6 separate regions of the Homo sapiens genome follow, and all the other regions are linked to region 1. Evidence: promoter capture Hi-C in 16 types of primary human blood cells and fetal thymus (Javierre and others, 2016). All regions are on one chromosome and are shown on one strand. The core of a region is centred on a gene start or on the middle of the fragment in contact, and the rest is flanking DNA. Distances in the headings are between cores, read along the strand shown.

Region 1 (3,098 bases), core at 172-2,671:
TCCACCAGTTCTAATCAGTAGTTCACCTCTATTCCTCTGGTCACCTGCTCCATCCTGAGTCACCCCTGGTCACCTGCTCTGACCTGAATCATCCTGAGTCACCTGTTCTGTAACCACCCTTCCTGCCAAATTATTCACCCCGCCACTTGAGCTCGTACGCCTGCTCTTTAAAATAGCCAGTCGGAATTAGCTTAGACTGTGCGGTCCAACCCTAGCCAGTAGGGGAAAGACACAGCAGTAGAGGCTACCTGCATCAGGAATAAGAACCCCTTCCCCTCCCCTGTTCAGGTGTGCCGTTGCCATTGCTTCATCCGCGAGTCGCACCCTTCTATAGAGGTAAAATTGCCTTGCTGAGAAAATTCTTTGAGCGCTAGTTCTTCTTTTTGGCACCAAAGAACCAGCATTTGTTTCTAAGAGAGCCTTATTGTCAAAGGAAATTAAGAAAAAGCATTACACTTATTCATACATGTGCATATATGTACATATACATATTGCAGAAAAGTATGATAGGGTGAGCAAAAAAAAAAAAAAAACCCTCAAGCAAAACAATGGGGTAATTCGGTGGGAAAAGTGAAATGAAAATCAAATTCAAAGAGGAAAAGAAATGAGTAAAATTTCCCATTGTTGAAGAGTTTTATTTTAAATGAAGATGGTGGATGTTAAATCACTACCCTATTTATATTCCATTGCATAAATCTCAGAGTGACTTAATATTTTCATTTATAAATATCAATATTTTCAACAAGCCAGACATTACAAACTTGGCAACTACTTAAACTTAGGATGAAACAAAAATTAGATAACAATTTCATTCTTTTAAGAGCTACAAAGAGGTCTAAAAAAAGGTTTGACCTCTGAAAAATTAACCTTAAACCATCTAAGTGTCCTTCCTAAAACTCAAGTCAAGCCCAGGTAGCTTCAGTGGCAAGCAACGAGACCACTAGTTAAAAGACCCTCTTCTTTTCCTACCCAACTTCAACATTCCCCCGTGCCGCTTACTCCCGCACCCAGCAGCCGCCCACTTCTGGTCCTCAGCAGTCCCCTGACCCCTCCTCTCCCGCTCCCCCACTTCCCTCCCCATTCCCGTACTTCCGCCCGTCCAAGTCCTCGGGCGCATGCGCGTTTCGCCTCCCTCCCCGCCGCCGCTGCTGTGTCATGGCGGAGCGGAAGTCCCAGCCACAACGGGAAAAGGCATACTTTAGGTGGGAGGCGCTTCTCACAGCTTTCTCCCCTTCCTCCCATAACCTTTTTGATCTCCCACCGTAGAGGGGCCTCCTACCCTGCACTCTTCCGAACACCTCGTAGTCCACGGATTTGAGTGACTGGGCGGTAGACATGGCGGCGGCGAGCCCTCTGTTGAGGAGCCGGAGAGGGGCTCGGGGCGCAGCGACTGCGGCGGCTGCGAGAGGGAGGGGACACATGGGACTGCTTGGCGCACCCCGCGCCTGTCACCGGTCCCGGACGCTAGCGCGCCGGGGTCACGCGTCGGAAGCGGCAAATGAGACTGCGGGGCCTGGGAGCGAGGGCAGCCGGGGACGCCAGGAGGGAAGAGGCCGCTGGGCCCCAGGCATCCTAGGCCTCTCTTCCCGGACTGGGGAGGATGCTGTCTCCACAGCGCTCCCTACCATTTAATTGATCAAGGTACTCTGTTCTCAAAGTTAGTAAATAAAAGCCGGATGCTGTGCCCAAAAAAAGAGTGGCTTCCCCCAGCTTTATTAAAGTGTAATTGACAAATAAAAGTTGGGTATATTTGTGGTGTACAAGGTGATGTTTTGACATATGTATGCATTGTGAAATGATTACATCAATGAAATTAACGTATCCATTGCACCATTTTTTAATGAAGAGAACATTTAAGATCTACTCTCATCAATTTTTAAGGACACAATACATTTATCGCAGTCACCATGTTAGACAACAGATCTTCAGAACTTATTATTCACACTAACTGAAACTTTGTACCCTTTGACCAATATCTCCCCATTTCCAACCCCTTTCATCCCCCATCCCAGGTCCCCCACCCCACTCCATCCCAGCAAGATTGGCTTTTGAAATCAAGGGCCTGCGTGTTTAGTGTTTTGAGAGTTAGTAAATTATTTATGAAATGTTTAGGTGACTACCAAGCCAGCTTTTAAGATAAGGTCTGCAACATCTTGAGCTCTTCTGTACAGTCAGGAAGGAATTGAGCCTGAACTCGTATTCTAAACGGATTGTGATATTTTCTGGGATAAGAAACTTTTTAAAAATATGAAGTCTTTTATGCTAGTGGAAACAGACAAAAGAAAAACACTGTAGTCATCTTGTCTGCTGTTCATACAGTTTTTTTGGTGTGGGTTTGTTGCTGTTGTTTTGAGACGGAGTTTCGCTCTTGTCTCCCAGACTGGAGTGCAGTAGTGCAATCTCAGCTCACAGCAGCCTCCACCTCCCAGGTTCAAGAAATTGTCCTGCCTCAGCCTTCCAAGTAGCTGGGATTACAGGCATGCGCCACCTCACCCAGCTAATTTTTGTATTTTTAGTGGAGACGGGGTTTCACCATGTTGTCCAGGCTAGTCTCAAACTCCTGACCTCAGGTGATCCACCTGCCTCGGCCTCCCAAAGTGCTGGGATTACAGGTGTGAGCCACCACACCCGACCTTTTTTTTTTTTTTTTTTTTTGATTGTCTTGATTATTCTCAGCAACATCCCAATTGCCTAGAAGGTTAAGGCTGAATTTTATTTCCTGGTGAGCTATTACCAAGTTTTAATATAAAACCATCCACCACTCCAAAGGATCTGGATACAGCTATTGATAATCTGCCACCTTCTAGAATTCCAAATCTGTTTACTTGTGAGAATTTGCATTTCTCTATTTGTTGGCCTCAATACCTTGGCATATTTCTCTGCATCTGGCCACACAGTTAAAATAATCCACTGCAATCTGATTCAATATACTGTGCCAATTCTATTAGAGAACACCAAAAATCATCCAAAACTTGGTTAGAATATGGTTAAATCATTTTTAAAGTAAAATATATTCTGGAAATGCTAGTGCAGTTAATTTATGTAGTGAAGGTCTTAGTTTATTGCAGAGACCTCGTAACTTAACTCTTCCATCTCCC
Region 2 (3,098 bases), core at 305-2,804, 490 kb before region 1:
AAGTATTGTTGAGTGCCTACTTAAAATGCCTATGATGCTAATCATCTCCACGTGGTCTCTCTAGTAAATTGGGTATCACAGTAAAAAGCCATCTCTCACAGTTCTTGTGTATTTTTCACAGTGTCTAGTGCAATACTGTAAACCTTGACTAATATCATGAGACCCAAAGTGCCACTAGTGATGCTGGAAGTACTCCCAAGAAGCAGAGAGAAGTCATGACATTACAAGAAAAGGATGAACTGCTTGCTATGTATTGTAGATTGAGGTCTACAGTTGTGGTGGCCCACCATTTGAAGACTAAAAAAAGAAAAGGAAATTTGTGAAGCCATCCCTGAAGCTACACCAGCAGATGCAAAGACCTTGCACTTTTTTGTGAAATATCTTTTTATCTCATATTGAAAATGCAGCGTTTGGCTGGGTGCAGCAGCTCATGCCTGTAATCCCAGCACTTTGGGAGGCTGAGGCGGGCAGACTGCTTGTGCCCAGGAGTTTGAGACCAGCCTGGACAACATGGCAAAAACCCGTCTCTACAAAATAAATAAATAAATAATGAATTAATTAAAAATGCATCTTTTATGTGAGTGCAGGATTGCCATAAGAGAGGCATACCTAAGGACTAATATGATTTGAGAAAAAATGAAGTCATCATATGACAATTTAAAGGCATAGGAAGGTGAAGGATCTAAGGCTGGAGAATGTAACACCAGCAAAGGATGGCATGACTATTAATTTTTAATTGGGTAGCCCTCAGAACCAGGAAAGGTTCACAGAGCTCCCAGTCTGATAATTTCGGAAAGAGGTTTGGCTTAAAAAATGTCAAGGAATTGGGAGAAGCAGCTTTTGCTGACCAAGAGGCAGCAGATGAGTTCCCAGGCACCATTAAGAAAATCAATGAAGGAAAAGTGTATCTTGCCTCAACAAGTTTTTAATGCAGACGAAAGTGCCCTGTTCACAAAAGCCCAGTAAGAGAAAGAGAGGTGAGCACCAGGACTTAAGGCATAAAGGGATAGGCTAACTCTACTGTTCTGTGCAAATGCAGCTGGGTTTATAATCAGGACTGCCCTTATTCATAAGGCTGCTAACCTTTGAGCCTTGAAGGGAAAAAATAAATACCAGCTGCCAGTCTTCTGGTTGTACAAAAAGAAGGCCTGGACAATGACAACCGGTTTTCTGAATTGGTTCTACTGATGTTTTGGTTCCTGAAGTCTCAAAGTACCTTGCCAGTAAGAGGCTGCGTTTTAAAGTTCTTTTGGTATTGGATAATGCCCCCACCCAGAACCCCATGAGTTCAACACTGAAGGCACTGACATGGTCTACTGGCCCCTAAACACAACATCCCTAATTCAGCCTCTAGATCAAGGGGTCATAAGGACTTGTAACGCTCATTACTACACAAAACTCTATGGAAAGATTTGTTGATGCTATGGAATAGAATCCCCAACAGAGAGAACATCAGGAAAATCTGGGAGGACTACACCACTGAAGATGCCATCATTGTTACAGAAAAAGCTGTGAAAGCCATCGAGCCTGAAACAATACATTCCTGCTGAAGAAAATGATGTCCAGATGTTACACAGGACTTCACAGAATTTATGACAGAGCCAATGAAGGAAATTATGAAAGAGGTTGTGGATATGGCAAAAAGGTAGAGGGGTGAAGGTTTTCATGATACGGATCTTGGAGAAATTCAAGAGCTATCAGACACCACATCAGAAGAATTAACGGAAGACGACTTGATGAAAATGAGTGTCTCCAAAAAGATGACAAATGATGCGGAAGAGGATGTAAAAGCAGTACCAGAAAACAAATTGAATTTGTTCCAAGGGTTCCAATTATTCAAGACTGCTTGTGTTATTTCCATAAAGTTACACCAAGTGTCCCTGCCTCTTCTGCCTCCCCTTCTACCTCCTCCACTTCTACTACACCAAGATGGCAAGACCAATCCCCCCACCTTCCTCCTCAGCCTACTCAACGTGAAGACAAGGATGAAGACATTTATGATGATCCACTTCCACTTAATGAATCTGCAAATATATTTTCTCTTCCTTTTCTAACATTTTCTTTTCCCTAGCTTACTTTAAGACTACAGTAATGTAATACACATAACATGCAAAATATGTTAATTGACTGTTTATATTATTGATAAGACAACAGTAGGCTATTAAAAGTTTTGGGGGAATCAAATGCATAGGAAGATTTTCAGCGGCATGGGGTTGGTGCCCCTAAACCCCCTGCTTTGTTCAAGGATCCACTGTGTGTGTGCATGCGCGCACTCGTGCGCGCATGCACACACACGCACACAAAATGGGTTTCTATTATCTGTTGTACCAACACCAAGCTCATGCCCTCGCCCATCTGGCTCCATCCTTCTCTCCTTCCTATTTCCCATCACTCCCCCTCTAGTAGAGGCTGCACCTGGAGCTGATGTCACCATCTCATAAAGATGCCAGGAGGATGCACACATCCACATGTAGAAGAACGCACTCAGCCTGTGACCCATCATCTTGACTTCCCAATCTCTTCACCTCATCACACCTACCTACCTTCCAAGGCTCAGGCCAAGGCCCATCTTTCCTTCCCGGAGACATTCCCATTTCCAATCATTCTGGTTCTCACAGCTCTTCTTTTCCTCACAACTCTACAACTAACAGGCTGGACCACAGAGCCCAGGAACTCATCATTATAATTTTGCTGTTGTTTCATTTATTGCTCTTATTACTTCCAACTAGACTGTTCGCTTCCTAAGAGCAAGGATGAGGCTTTATACTTCTATATTCTCAGGGGTTTTTGGTCCAGTTCTGAGCACAGAGTTATGTGCACAGTGAACTGAATGCCAGCAGACAGACTGGGCTTGGTGTGTGCTGAGCGGACCTCACAGGGGAAAGGGGGCCAGGCTGCAGCAACCCAGGTACACGCAATTAAGGGCAGCAGCCAGCCCTACCTTAGTATCTTGTCCATTCCCTGCTCTTCCCCTGGGTAGTTAAGATCCTCAGCTATGTGCTGTACGGAAAACGTCTGAAAGGAAGGTTACTTGGGTAACAAGCGGCCATTTTAAGTCTGTCCAGTCTCAGATTATTATTTTTCACTTTCTTTTCTCC
Region 3 (3,098 bases), core at 408-2,907, 460 kb before region 1:
TACTAATGAGAAGTACTTGATGATTATGCACAACCCCTTTGTTGTCCATTCTACACTTGTATTATCATTAAATTTGTTATGTATTAGCTTTCAATATAGCCATTCCACAATGCACGTGTATTTCAAAACATGTTGTATGAGATTATATATAAAAATATATAAAGTGTGTGTGTATATATTTATATATTTTTTCTTTTTTTTTAAGACTAAGTCTTGCTCTTTTGCCCAGGCTGGAGTGCAGTGGCGTGATCGTGGCTCACTGCAACCTCCACCACCCGGACTCAAGCGACTCTCGTGCCTCAGCCACCCAAGTAGCTGGGATTACACGTGTGTGCCACTATGCATGGCTAATTTTTGTATTTTTAGTAGAGACAGGGTTTCAACATGTTGCCCAGGCTGGTTTCAAACTCCTGACCTCAAGTGATCAGTCCGCCTCAGCCTCCCAAAATGCTGGAATTACAGGGATGAGCTAGTGCACCCGGCCTATAATTTTTATTTATAATTTTTATTAAAAAATAAAGTTTTTACAAATTTTTGGTTATGTGTGTCTCTCATATTGGCTCCCCCAGGCCTGTACTTTTGGAAGTATACAGTAGAAACCCTAACCCTTTCAGAATTAACTAGTTACCAGCAGTAAGTTTCCCATTCTATCAATAAACAATGCAAGAGAGAAGATTTTGGAGATTTTTTTTTTTTTTTGGTTAAAGTGTGAGAATATGAATACACTTGGATTATAATCCATCCTCCAACACACACACAAATAAGCAGCTAATGGCAATACTAGTGGTCTTCCCAATTCACAAGACCTGTGCTTCAAATTGTTTTCCTGATAATGTGGAGAAATGTGCTCTTTATGTATTCTCAAGAAACAGGATGTGAAAAGCTGGTATGGGTATACAAGATAAAAATGCCTACCCAGAGTGGGCAGAAGCCTCTAAATATTACTGGTTTGCTAAAAGTTTCAGATGCTTTTTAGTTCTACATATGTTAGTTCTACCTTTAACCTCTCTACCACTCAACGAACCATCAAGAAACAAAATCTACTCCCTATGTAACAGTAAAGTCACCCCAGACTAACCTTCAAAAGGGGTTTTACTTTAAAGAAACAGCTTCACAGCCACTGCTGTCATAGAGAATATTCTCAGGTTCCGTGTGGCCGGAAGCTTGAATTTTTTCAGTGCTGGCTTCCTTCTCCAGTGGGGCCAGAGGCTGTCAGAGCCAGCCCGGAAATCTCTCTCATATATGGCTTTAACGTAAATGAAAATATTCCCCTGTTAATTATTTACATAAAGAAGGTCATACAGGTCTGTCCTAGCAACACCAGAGAGCCGTTCTCACCAGCAGCTTTTACCCTCAGAAAGGAGAGAAGAAACACCCATTCAAGTTCAGCACAGAGGTTTGGGTTTATAACCTGTTTCCAAAGTCAATACAGTTAACTGCTGTGGGCTATTTGCTTTCAGAGTTTTAGGATCTCTCTCTCTCACTATACTTTCTGGCAAAGCCTGACAAACAATAGAGTCATTTTAGTCTTAATGCATTGGCTAAAACTGGTTCCTACATTCTCATCAATTCTCCTAAGACTTACATTTTACCTAAATCCAAAGGTCAACAGGAGTTCTCGGGACTTACAAAGGTACTTTTCAGAACTCCATGCAGCAATATATCTTCCCAGTTCAAAAGCAGGGCCAAACAGCAATGCTGGGCTCCCTTAATATGCCAATGTGCTTCAGCTCAGTGAGGATCTGGTCTGTCCACAGTTCAGGTATTAAGAGAGCTATATAGCACGTGCGCTAATGCTACCAATACAGAGACGAACTACCCCTCATTGGGGGCCACGGTCCCTATGGGTGAGTGTGAAAGATGGGGAGTTTAGGTGTTTTCAGAAACTTCTGGTTTGTGGTACTGTATGATTTCCCCAAATAATGGTCACACATGAGCAGAGAATCAGTCCCAAAAAATGGTAGTTGATAACCTGGCACTGTATTCGATCTCTGGGTGACATTCTCATACCTGAGGGATGCCTCAGGTCAAACGGAAGCTGTTATACTTCATTCTATGTGCCGTCAAAGCTCCTTCTATGAGCTAAGAACACTGCAACTGAAAGTAAAGGTAAAAGAGGTCATGAGCTAGAGAAACTCCTAGGAAGCTTTATTCTGAAAAGAACAAAATGGGAATATATAATATATATTAGGTTGGTGCAGAAGTAATTGTAGTTTTGTCATTACTTTTAATTGCAAAAGCCACAATTACTTTTGCACCAGCCTAATACATTCATACCAGAGGGCTTCTCTATAGCACCCTCAAAAGAAAATTTCTTGGGAAAAATGGTGACATGGCACCTTTCAGTCTAGCAGTGTTAGGCATTCCTAAGAAAGATACTCAGATTTCTCCTGGACAGAGAGGGCATAGAAGAGAACAAACCCAGCATTCACCAACCCAACAATCCTATTAGGAATCTTATGATTCTGGACTCTTGAAGTGGCAGAAGTAGCATCATACACACACACATCAGAATTATCATCACACACACACACACACACACACACACACCCCATCAGAAGACACTTGCCTAGGCCAAATTAAATCATTTCTGGAAGTGGGCAGGGTATAAATAATAAATATAAATAACTTGCCTCACTGATGCCAAATATAGATCATAATGAATGGGAACAAAATCAAGTTTGTGGTTTTAGGATACAAGTAAGGCTGAACACGTAAGGATGAACTCTTAGAAACAGTTTTTATATCTGCTATGGGGAAACTCAAAAGGTGGCCTGAAAACACAATGCAAATCGCAGCTGGAAGTCTTCACTTATACTTGGCAGCAGCAGCAGCAGCAGCAGCTAACCGGAAACAGGGATTATCCATTTTATTCACACAGGGACATCACAGAACAAAAGGCTAACACTTAGCCCAAAAACACCAACAAACACTCAACCAGTCGAAAATATTTAAAGTCAAGAAAAATCAGCAATCTCCAATAATCTGAACTTCAGATGTGGTTTCCTGGCCTAACTCCATGTTTCTGGGTAATGCCATCACCTTTGAACATTGCTCCAAGGTTATTCTCTGTGTAGCAAATGCTCAACGATGCAGCA
Region 4 (3,098 bases), core at 296-2,795, 360 kb before region 1:
TAAAAGTGTGTTTCCTGTCATAAAACAGCAATTGTCCTTCGCACCTGTTTACTCACAAAGGAAAAAAGCAAACAAAACAGAAAATGAAAAAAGAATTCTTGGCCTGGATTTAACATGATTTCTAATAGAAAGTGAATTAATTAATTAAAAAAAAAAAAAAAGGTAATGCCACAAATCCGAAAGTCTGGGGAGTTAGAGAGTTTAGTCTTTATCAAGTTTTACCCATGTACAGTTACAAAACGGGGGTTGGGGAGGCTGCTCCTTCTTACCTAAAGTTTATTACATGAAGTTTACAGCCATTTTAAGTGAAAACTTCCATACTAAGATTTGTTACATACGCAGGCATAAAATCCCTGGCAACAAATGTTGTGTTTAAATCCAAAGTCTTCTGGTAGAGAAATATTTAATACCTCTTGACAAAAGTTATCTCTCTGTTTCTTATCAGAGCCCTCATTTCAGTAGTATCTCATTTCAAAACTTCTAGAAAACTTGTTACAGAAAGTCAAAGAGAACCAAGAAAAACACTGAAGCCAATAAAAAAAAAACTCGGTGTGTTTGGACCATCTGTCCAAACCAATTTAATTTTTTTATAACCACTAAGATATGTGGTCAAAGTTTATTTACCTTTCTCTTTTCAATGGTAAGTTTAGAACACAAAGGCAACTAAATGAAGAAAAAGTCCTATGGATTCAACACAGGCATGTAACCAGTAATAACTAATTTTTAAAAACACTGCCTGCAATTTGATTTGCAATAGAAAAAATCTCTCTTCAAATAGTCAACTCTTTTAACAAACAATAAAAACAAAGCTTCTTCCCAATGCAAGTATTAATTAAAATGCAATTCCAAATACTTGCTTTGTATGAGAACAAGTTAGACAAATTAGGGTATCCCAAAGCATGTTCAACAAAACCTGCATCCGAGAGAGGCTATGAAAAGTAAGAAAATAATTCAAAGGTCAGGTAAGTTTGGGAAACATCGTATGTTACTCTCCACCTCCAGAATGCCTGTTAGGATACAACAGCTCGGAGACGACCTTCACTAAAGAGGCCTAGTACATGTTATTAAGCCCAGCATTCTCCAGATTTACTTGACCAGGAGATGCCCTTTATCAACAGTACATGTGAACATACTGCAAAACTGGTGCTTCAAAGAAGCTGATGGGAAATGCTGGATTCGACCATATTACCTACTCTGTTATCTATGTTTAGTTAGAAACTTTTAATGATCACACATACCCAGTCTCTTCTTTTTGTGGCTACATGGGAGGATTACTCTTACCTGCTACCCTAGCATTTGGGCGGGGCATTTGATTATTCTGATCAATGGCCTGCATCTAGCCCATCAGTCCACCGTCCTTGAGTGAGGATGGCACAGAGCACCCTGCCACCATGTGACGGACAAGTAACATGAGTGGAAAATACGCATCTGTGAGTTTGAGCCACCGAGATTCTGGAGATCTTTGTTACTGCAGCACCAGCCTAACCTGCCTGATAAACTATGGAAGGGAATTTTTCTTAAATAAACCTATATATAGTGACCAGAAGTGACAAAATAAATATATAGAGAAATGTGGAATAAGCATACAACAAGAATGAACCTTTAAGGCCACTTTGGTCTAAAGAATCTCATTTCAAGCACTAAAGAGCAGTGAATTAAAACTAAACACTCTGGTATGGACTAATTTGAAGCATCAAAAGTTTTGTTTGTAGTTTGTGGAGGTGAGGCCTTTGACACAAGAAAACTAAAACTCTATTACATAATTTGTCTAAATTCATACTGTTAATAACAGTCATGTGCCTTACCGATGGCTGTATTCTTTTCACTAAACAATGAGTCTGAATTAGTGGAAAATACTAAATGATGAATTTAAAAAATAGTTTTGAGTTTCATTACTCCAAGGCACTCTGTAAGAATGCCGTTCTGTGGCTCAAACTCACAGAAGCATGTTTCCCACTCATGTTACGTGCCTGTCACATGGTAGCAGGAGGCTCTACCATTCTCACTCAAGGACTCTGGCTGCAGTCTGGACACAGGCCATTCCTCAGAACTAGTCCAACATGCCACCAAAATGCAAGGGGAGCAGGCAAGAGTGATTCTCCCATGTGACCACAGAGAGAAGGGACTGCATATCTGTCATCATTAAAAGTTTCTAAACATAGATAACAGCATAGATAATGTGGTTTAATCCAGCATTTCCCATTAGCTTCTGTAAGAATGTGGAAGTATTATGGAACCAAAAGGAGACAAACTGTTGCCAAACGGAAGGCCCTAAGCTTTTAAAGAATAAGCTGTTCTTATAATTGACAAACTAACCGTTTGCAAGGGATACATCCACTTTTCTTTTTCTTTTTTGAGACGGAGTTTCGCTCTTGTCACCCAGGCTGGAGTGCAGTGGCGCGATCTCAGCTCACTGCAACCTCTGCCTCCCGGGCTCAAGTGATTCTCCTGACTCGGCCTCCTGAGTAGCTGGGATTATAGGCATGTGCCACCACGCCCGGCTAATTTTTTGTATTTTTATAATTTTATATTTTGTATTTTTATAATTTTTTGTGTTTTTGTATTTTCACCATGTGGCCAGGTTGGTCTCGAACTCCTGACCTGAAGGCAATCTACCCGCCTCAGCCTCCCAAAGTGCTGGGATTACAGGCATGAGCCACTGCGCCCAGCCTACATCCACTTTTGAAAACAAAGTTTACTTTTTCAAATTATAGAAGTAACATATGCTTACTGTAGAACAGCAGAAAATACAAAACAGCTCTGAGACAAAAGCAAAAATCACAAGGAATCTCATCCATTCTCCCCTCCCCCAAAAACCTTAATATTTGTAGTATTTCCTTATCCCTTTTGTATATTTTTCTACATAGTTACGGTAATTCCATTTATATAATCTTGTGTTCTGCTTTTTCTCCCTATGTTAAAAACCTTCCCATGTTATTAGAAGGTATTCCATAATAATATTAAAGTTTTTATTAATATAGTAAATAATACTTACATATTTCCAGGCACTAGTCTAACTGCTTTACCTATAACTTATTTAATCCAACCAACCCTATATGGTCTGTACTATGATTATCCTGATCTTACTGATGAGGAAA
Region 5 (3,098 bases), core at 347-2,846, 340 kb before region 1:
AAGAGCCGTGTACAAAAACCACTCACAGCAACCCTTTCACAATAGCAAAAAAACCTGGAATCAATCCAAATCTCCATCTAGAGTACAATGAATAAATAAATCACGTTAGAATACTATACAGCAGGTGAAACTGAATGAAATACAGCCATGAAATGGATAAACCTTGGGAATAGAATCTTAATCTAAATATGTGAGTCAGAAGAATACATAAAGTATAATTTTGTTGATATAAAGTTCAAAATCATACACAATCAAGATTTTTTAAAAAGGATAAACCATAGAGAAGGGAATGATATGCACAAAATCAAGGATATGGGTTGTTTCAGATGGGATGATGGAGGTGGGCTCTGAATGTATAAGGCTCTTCCTGAACTAGCCGGTGGCTGCCTGAGTGTCCCTTGGTTTATGATTTTTATTTTTTTGAGACAGAGTCTCGCTCTTGTCACCCAGGTTGGAATGCAGTGGCGCGATCTCGGCTCACTGCAACCTCTGCCTCCCCAGTTCAACTGATTCTGTTGCCTCAGCCTCCCGAGTAGCTGGGAATTACAGATGCCTGCCACCATGCCCAGATAATTTTTGTATTTTTAGTAGAGATGGGGTTTCACCATGTTGGCCAGGCTGGTCTTGAACTCCTGACCTCAAGTGATCCGCCCCCACTCGGCATCCCAAAGTGCTGGGATTACAGGCGTGAGCCACTGCACCCAGCTGGTTTACGATTCTTTAACATATATTTTAGGAACATTATTTTGTACCTACCAATTAGTTGATTCAAAAAAGAACTCTAAGAAAAGACTGGACGAGAGGGCAGGACATTGACTATATCAGATGACAGACATCAAGATGCCAGAGCAGAGGGAGCAGAGAGGACCCTTTGCTCAGGGGTTAGCTTCCGAGGCTCCAGCTCTGATGTCTCAAAACCAATGCCTTTTTCTTCCAGAGGGGAAAAAGACTGTTTTTCAACTTTAGAGGTGTTTTACAAAACAACCTAAAACACTGATTAATCTAAATAAACCATGGTATATAGGACTCTTCCACCAAGAATTAAAGAACAGCTTTATAAAATAATTTTGTATTAAACAAATAATTTACAGTGAGAGCCTCACTTTTGTCACCACCATCAAGGAAAAAAATGTGCTGATACTTCAGCAAAAGAAAGGAAAATTCAAGAAGGAAACTTTTGATATTGAGGTCCCTTTGCTGAAGGAACAGAATAGAGTTTCTTCATTTAATGTGCATACAACTCACTTAAAGGTCTTGTTAAAATGTTGATTCCGATTGGCTGAGTTCAGAGTGGGGCCTAAGAATCTGCATTTGCAACAAGCTTCCAGGCGATTCTAATGTTGAAGGTCCGTGAACCTCACTATGATAGCAAAGGACATTATGAAAATGCCTTCTCCAGAGATGTTTAAAAATAGAAACACAGGTATATCTAATTGGTGTAATTTCCTTTAACCACTGAGTAGAAAAAAATAGATGATGTTATTCCCACACAATAAAAATTTAAATATAATTACAAGTGCTACCGGAAAAATCAGAGTACTAAACTAGGTCTTTTGCAAAGAAAAGATGCCCTGAGAAAAAGCAAAGACTGAAAATTTACAAGAAAAACCCATGAGATGCTTTACTCACTTCCACAGACCTACAAAGTTCACTCTTCTAACAGGGGTAGTTAGCCCCTTCCTTCTGGAAGAATGGTTTGCATTTCCAATAATGTAGTGAAAGAAACTACGGCTGCCATTAAATAAAGCCCAATTATAATGAAGATACTAGTTACGATGCAACATAATTAAAGGAGCATCATGTCATTGCACGTAAAAAAAATTAGGCTTTAAAATGTTCTATAAGAATATGCTATTAAAAAGAAAAGCTTAAAATTATTTCGACAAAATCCACACTGAATGATTTCCACTAATCATGTCTATGTTAGCAGTAGTAAAATCCTTCCACGTCAAAATAGTACTTCCACATGTAAAGTCATACATTCAAACATCAAGACAAAGCAACCACTCTACAAACCCTTCCAGGAAACTCTGCCAATGCCAAGCCTCTGCTCAGGATGTGTCACAAGTAGAGGGAGGTCTTCTCATTTGCTCTGCAACATCACAGATAGTTGTTACTAGTCTTGCCCAAGAGAAGTTCTTCACAGAAAACCTCAACTGTGGGAGACGACCTAGTGACAGCAGTTCCTTCACTGCCCAATACTTCTCCTCTCAGATGAAGGTTTTGGTCACTCCAGTAATGACAGAGTTACAAAGAGCTTAACCCAACAGAATTCTGCACCTGCTGTGTAAGTCAGAACAGCTAAACCTCCTGTGACATCAACACAGGATATTTCTTACAACAAAGTAAATCCAAAACGTTTGGATGATCCATGGGAACAACATTCATAAAAATCTGTACGCAACACGATTTTACACAACCAGCACAAAAAGTCTCATATTTTAATGGCTATTAGAGAAACTCAAAATAACGCACATACACCACACAATGTACATGCAGTTCTATTCTGCAGAGCCACATGAAATCAAAAGCAACTAACTTGGATTCATTAGAAATATTTAAAAATACAAGCAGGCACGCCCTTGGCTTGTAAACACTGACCTTCCCTTCCAACTAGCATATTGAAATTTCCTTTTTCACCTAAACATTTTAGGAAAGCCTGGGTTGACATTTGAAATATATCCCATTTGCCATCCCACACTGAATAATGAATTATAGAGATGGCATTTAGAAGGGAAATTCCCTGTGTCCTGGCCGAGACTAAACATGAGAACACTGGGAACCATCTCCTTCTGACTAGATGCCAGTCAAGAGGCCTTGGTGGTCTGCCCTTCTCCACCCTCTCCCCAGTCACAGCTGTGAAAAATATGTATACAAAAAATACATATAAACAAACACAAACGCAGTGTTACTGTCATAATCCCATTAATTACGCCCGGACACTTAACTTGGCTACCTCAATCAATAGAAATCTGAATACCAATTTAGCCCCCATCATGACACTCATACACCTAATAATCCTTAATAAAGCATCCAAATAATGCAACTGTACTTGACTTAGAAAAAGCAAACGATGAAAACAAAATACAAGCTAAAGG
Region 6 (3,098 bases), core at 446-2,945, 350 kb after region 1:
TATTCTGACAGCATACATATCTCAATGTGTTTTGTAACACACTGTACATTTTCGTCAAGACTAGTAAAGTATGTTGTTATAGCCACATACATAAATATTTAATACTTGGTCATTATAATTGGAGCCTGGGCTAAAGGTTTTCTTTTCGGAATGGCAATTTTAAATATTCATATCAAAACTGACAACTCTCAAACTCCTGGCCTCAAGCAGTCCTCCTGGCTCAAACTTCCGAAGTGTTGGGATCAGAGGCGTGAGCTACCGGGCCCAGCCAAAACTGACAACTCAGAAGCCATTTAATTTAGCTTAGTTCTTTAATGTCTTGAATATTGTTCTAGAACATTCTTGGAGATACTTTGGCCATGACATTTCTGTTGATCTGTAAATGTGCATTTATCCTAAGCCATTGCCCCTTTTCAGGTCACTGTGTCCAACATCCCAATAGGCCAGTATAGTCTACTTAAAAGCCAAGTTCTTAACTGACCAACTCTAGTTGAGATAGAATGGTTTCTAATTCAGGTTCTTTTCGTGATTTTAATCCCATGTCTCTCTTATGAGCAGGTGCAAACTACTTTAGCGCCTTGATCTTTTCCACTTTCCATTGACCAATTTCCAAATTATTAGTTACCTCAATCTTAGTTTTCTTTATGGATTAGTTGTTTTGTAGCCAGTACAAAGCTGATTTGCATAAGCAGTGAGCTGCTGCTAATTCTCTATACATATATTGAGATTAATGTCTTTGTAGGACTGACTGAAAAGTGAATCAATGAACTTACATTTCATATTATAATTATGAGAACCATCAAGAAAGTAACATTAAAATAATGCTGGATATAGTAATGAGTTTGGTACTATGTTATTCATATAACCAGAACTTCATTTAACTTCACTAGTACTGAAAACCAAAGTGAGTTCCTTAATAACCAGCGAAAATTTTGGAAACTCATTCTGCAATCCTGTGTGTCAGAAAATAAAACTTTTGAAAGATGTAAAGAAATCCTAGAAGTAACATGCACGTTTAATCGCAAGCTCATGAAAGTCGGCTAGAATGCAGAAATGCCAACAAATTTAATTGCTAAAAAGCTGAATTTGCAACTTGATTTACTATTTCAACTCTGTGGTGACATGAGCATTCATCTTCCCGCCAATGGGACTTTTTTTCTTTTGGCAGAGGTTGCAGAGAGATGGAGTCCCCATCTCCGCACTCAGCCTGGTGCGAGCTCGTGCGCCTGTGCCCGCGCTTCTCGCCGTCTCTAGAGACTAACCACCGGCATCTTAAGCAGCTTCGGAAGGAGTGCCCGGGCTGGGTTAGAGATGGCGGGCAGGTGGCAGGGAAAATCTACAGAAATGTTACCCCAAGCCATGTGCTTTGGCCCCATGAAGCGCTAAGGTGTGGTTCTCTAGGGTGTGGGTGCTGTGTGTGGAGTTGGGGAGCAGGGGTCAGGGGGCAGTAAGTGTGGGGAGCTGACCGGCGCCTCACCTTGCCGGGGACCCCGCGGTGGTCCGTGCTGCCCTGCCAGAAGCGCCTGCTGTAGTTGGTGATGTATCCGACCAGCTTGTCCTGATAGGGGAAATCCACCTTCCAGATCAGGGACCCGTAACCAAAAACCCACATCTTCTCGCGGCTCCTCTGCCCCAGTGGCCGTGAACCCTAGCTGTCGCCGCGCCGCCGGGGACTGAAGCCTCCGGTAAGCGAGTAACCGGCCGCGCGGGGCGCAGGCGCGATGGCCACTTGGGGCGCAAAGCGCACTGGGAGTTTAGATCCAGAAAGATTTTCCGAGCGGATCTCAGTCAGCTTTATTTTATTTCCTTGATTAGGGTGTCAAGAGGCATTGACCTTCGGTGTAGTAAGCAATGGATTCTTTTGCAGCATCCGTAAATCACCCTAACCTACCTTTAGTGCCCGTGTGCAGAAAACTACAATACCCACAATGCTTTTTGGAGCTATTTGGCTCTGAAATTGGAACTGGGCTTATTTCTAACGGGGCCGAGGAAGGAGAAAAGAGCAGGAGTCGTCACTCGTGTCCAGATACGGAGGCGGTGTACCAGCACCGCAGGTAGCAAAGCACCTAGAAACACGTTTTGTTCTGCTTTGGAAATTAGATTTTTGCCTATATAACAGCAGCCAGAGGAATGTAATTCATATTTGATTTTATGTCCTGAAAAAAAAGTCTTTTGCCTTTCAAATAAAAGCAGAAAGTTTACAATAGAAGTTTACGCTTGTGAAAGAGTAGCTGTCATTTCAATGGGAATTGTTTATATATTTAAATTTTACACAAATTTATTCATCTTTAGTATTATCATTGGCTTGTTCACAAAAGAGCAGGCAAATGTTCTTAACTTGGGGCCCCTGTAAAGGCTTTGGAAACGAGCTGGGGAACCTGAATTTGTATACAAAATTTGGGGTGTACACTTTTCTAGGGGGAAACTACAGCTTTCATGAGTTTCTCCAAGGGGTCAAGGATCCTAAAATTTTTTGAAGATCTGCTCATTAGAGCTCTTGCTGCAAAATATTGTTTAGGAAATTCGCTTGGACTATCATGGCTGTGTCTCTGTGTGTGAAAACAGAAACCTTACCAAGTGATTGTTCTTTCTTGAAGATTTTTATACCATGATCTTGAATGCTAAAACACTCAGATTCAAGGGGTATTATTTGTTTTCTTATAAAGAAATCAGCAGGAAGCTGCTACCAGACAAACAAACAAAAAAAAAAGCAAGTCTTTTCCTATTTTCTCTAAGTTGTGGTTTCAAATTGCCTGATATGGTTGCTAACCCTTCTTTTTTGAAAAATTTTGAATACACAGAAAACTCAGATAAAAAGAGTGTAATGACCAATACCTTTCATCTAGATCCAGTAATTACCATTTTGCACAGTTGCTGTACTTCCTTTTTACTTTATTTATACTTTTAAATGGAGAACATTTGAAGTTGCTTGTGTTATGACATTTTACTGCCACATACTCTACATGTGTCTCATAAGAATAAGGACATTCATCCTAGAACAAGTTCCCTAAAAAAAAAGAATAAGGGCATTCTCCTAATAACTGTGATGCCATTATCACATCTGAGAAAATTAACAATAGTTATGTAATCAAATAAGT

The links. Contacts are between HindIII fragments. The CHiCAGO score rates a contact against its expected background, and 5 or more counts as called.
Region 2: a fragment that was not itself captured here is called in contact with the fragment with the promoter of ACYP2 in region 1 in 1 of 17 cell types (neutrophils); the score reaches 5.5 in neutrophils.
Region 3: a contact is called between a fragment that was not itself captured here and the fragment with the promoter of ACYP2 in region 1, in 3 of 17 cell types (megakaryocytes, total B cells and endothelial precursors). The highest score is 6.5, in megakaryocytes.
Region 4: a contact is called between a fragment that was not itself captured here and the fragment with the promoter of ACYP2 in region 1, in 2 of 17 cell types (megakaryocytes and endothelial precursors). The highest score is 6.7, in megakaryocytes.
Region 5: a contact is called between a fragment that was not itself captured here and the fragment with the promoter of ACYP2 in region 1, in 1 of 17 cell types (megakaryocytes). The highest score is 5.1, in megakaryocytes.
Region 6: a contact is called between the fragment with the promoter of CHAC2 here and the fragment with the promoter of ACYP2 in region 1, in 8 of 17 cell types (monocytes, naive CD8 T cells, total CD8 T cells and 5 more). The highest score is 11.1, in monocytes.

What each region holds. Positions count from the first base shown.
Region 1 is chr2:54,113,938-54,117,035 of GRCh38, reverse strand. It overlaps ACYP2 (acylphosphatase 2), which reads right to left and starts at 1,421. Exons shown (of 4, transcript NM_138448.4): 1 at 1,280-1,421. The coding sequence starts at 1,337. RefSeq lists silencers at 973-1,032, 1,523-1,592. The HindIII fragment of the contact is 9,756 bases long and covers 1-3,098 here.
Region 2 is chr2:54,607,879-54,610,976 of GRCh38, reverse strand. The region is part of intron 3 of SPTBN1 (spectrin beta, non-erythrocytic 1); the gene reads right to left. Among named protein-coding and RNA genes, the nearest start is that of SPTBN1-AS1, 51 kb to the right of the region's middle. The HindIII fragment of the contact is 4,624 bases long and covers 1-3,098 here.
Region 3 is chr2:54,578,202-54,581,299 of GRCh38, reverse strand. The region is part of intron 2 of SPTBN1 (spectrin beta, non-erythrocytic 1); the gene reads right to left. Among named protein-coding and RNA genes, the nearest start is that of SPTBN1-AS1, 21 kb to the right of the region's middle. RefSeq lists enhancers at 1,011-1,060, 2,060-2,109. The HindIII fragment of the contact is 983 bases long and covers 1,166-2,148 here.
Region 4 is chr2:54,474,464-54,477,561 of GRCh38, reverse strand. The region is part of intron 1 of SPTBN1 (spectrin beta, non-erythrocytic 1); the gene reads right to left. Among named protein-coding and RNA genes, the nearest start is that of SPTBN1, 20 kb to the right of the region's middle. The HindIII fragment of the contact is 1,467 bases long and covers 812-2,278 here.
Region 5 is chr2:54,458,327-54,461,424 of GRCh38, reverse strand. The region is part of intron 1 of SPTBN1 (spectrin beta, non-erythrocytic 1); the gene reads right to left. Among named protein-coding and RNA genes, the nearest start is that of SPTBN1, 3.5 kb to the right of the region's middle. The HindIII fragment of the contact is 546 bases long and covers 1,324-1,869 here.
Region 6 is chr2:53,766,401-53,769,498 of GRCh38, reverse strand. CHAC2 (ChaC glutathione specific gamma-glutamylcyclotransferase 2) reads right to left here and starts at 1,695. Exons shown (of 3, transcript NM_001008708.4): 1 at 1,478-1,695. The coding sequence starts at 1,612. The region is part of intron 1 of ASB3 (ankyrin repeat and SOCS box containing 3); the gene reads left to right. All of the region lies in intron 1 of GPR75-ASB3 (GPR75-ASB3 readthrough), which reads left to right. RefSeq lists enhancers at 1,164-1,353, 1,374-1,723. The HindIII fragment of the contact is 6,206 bases long and covers 1-3,098 here.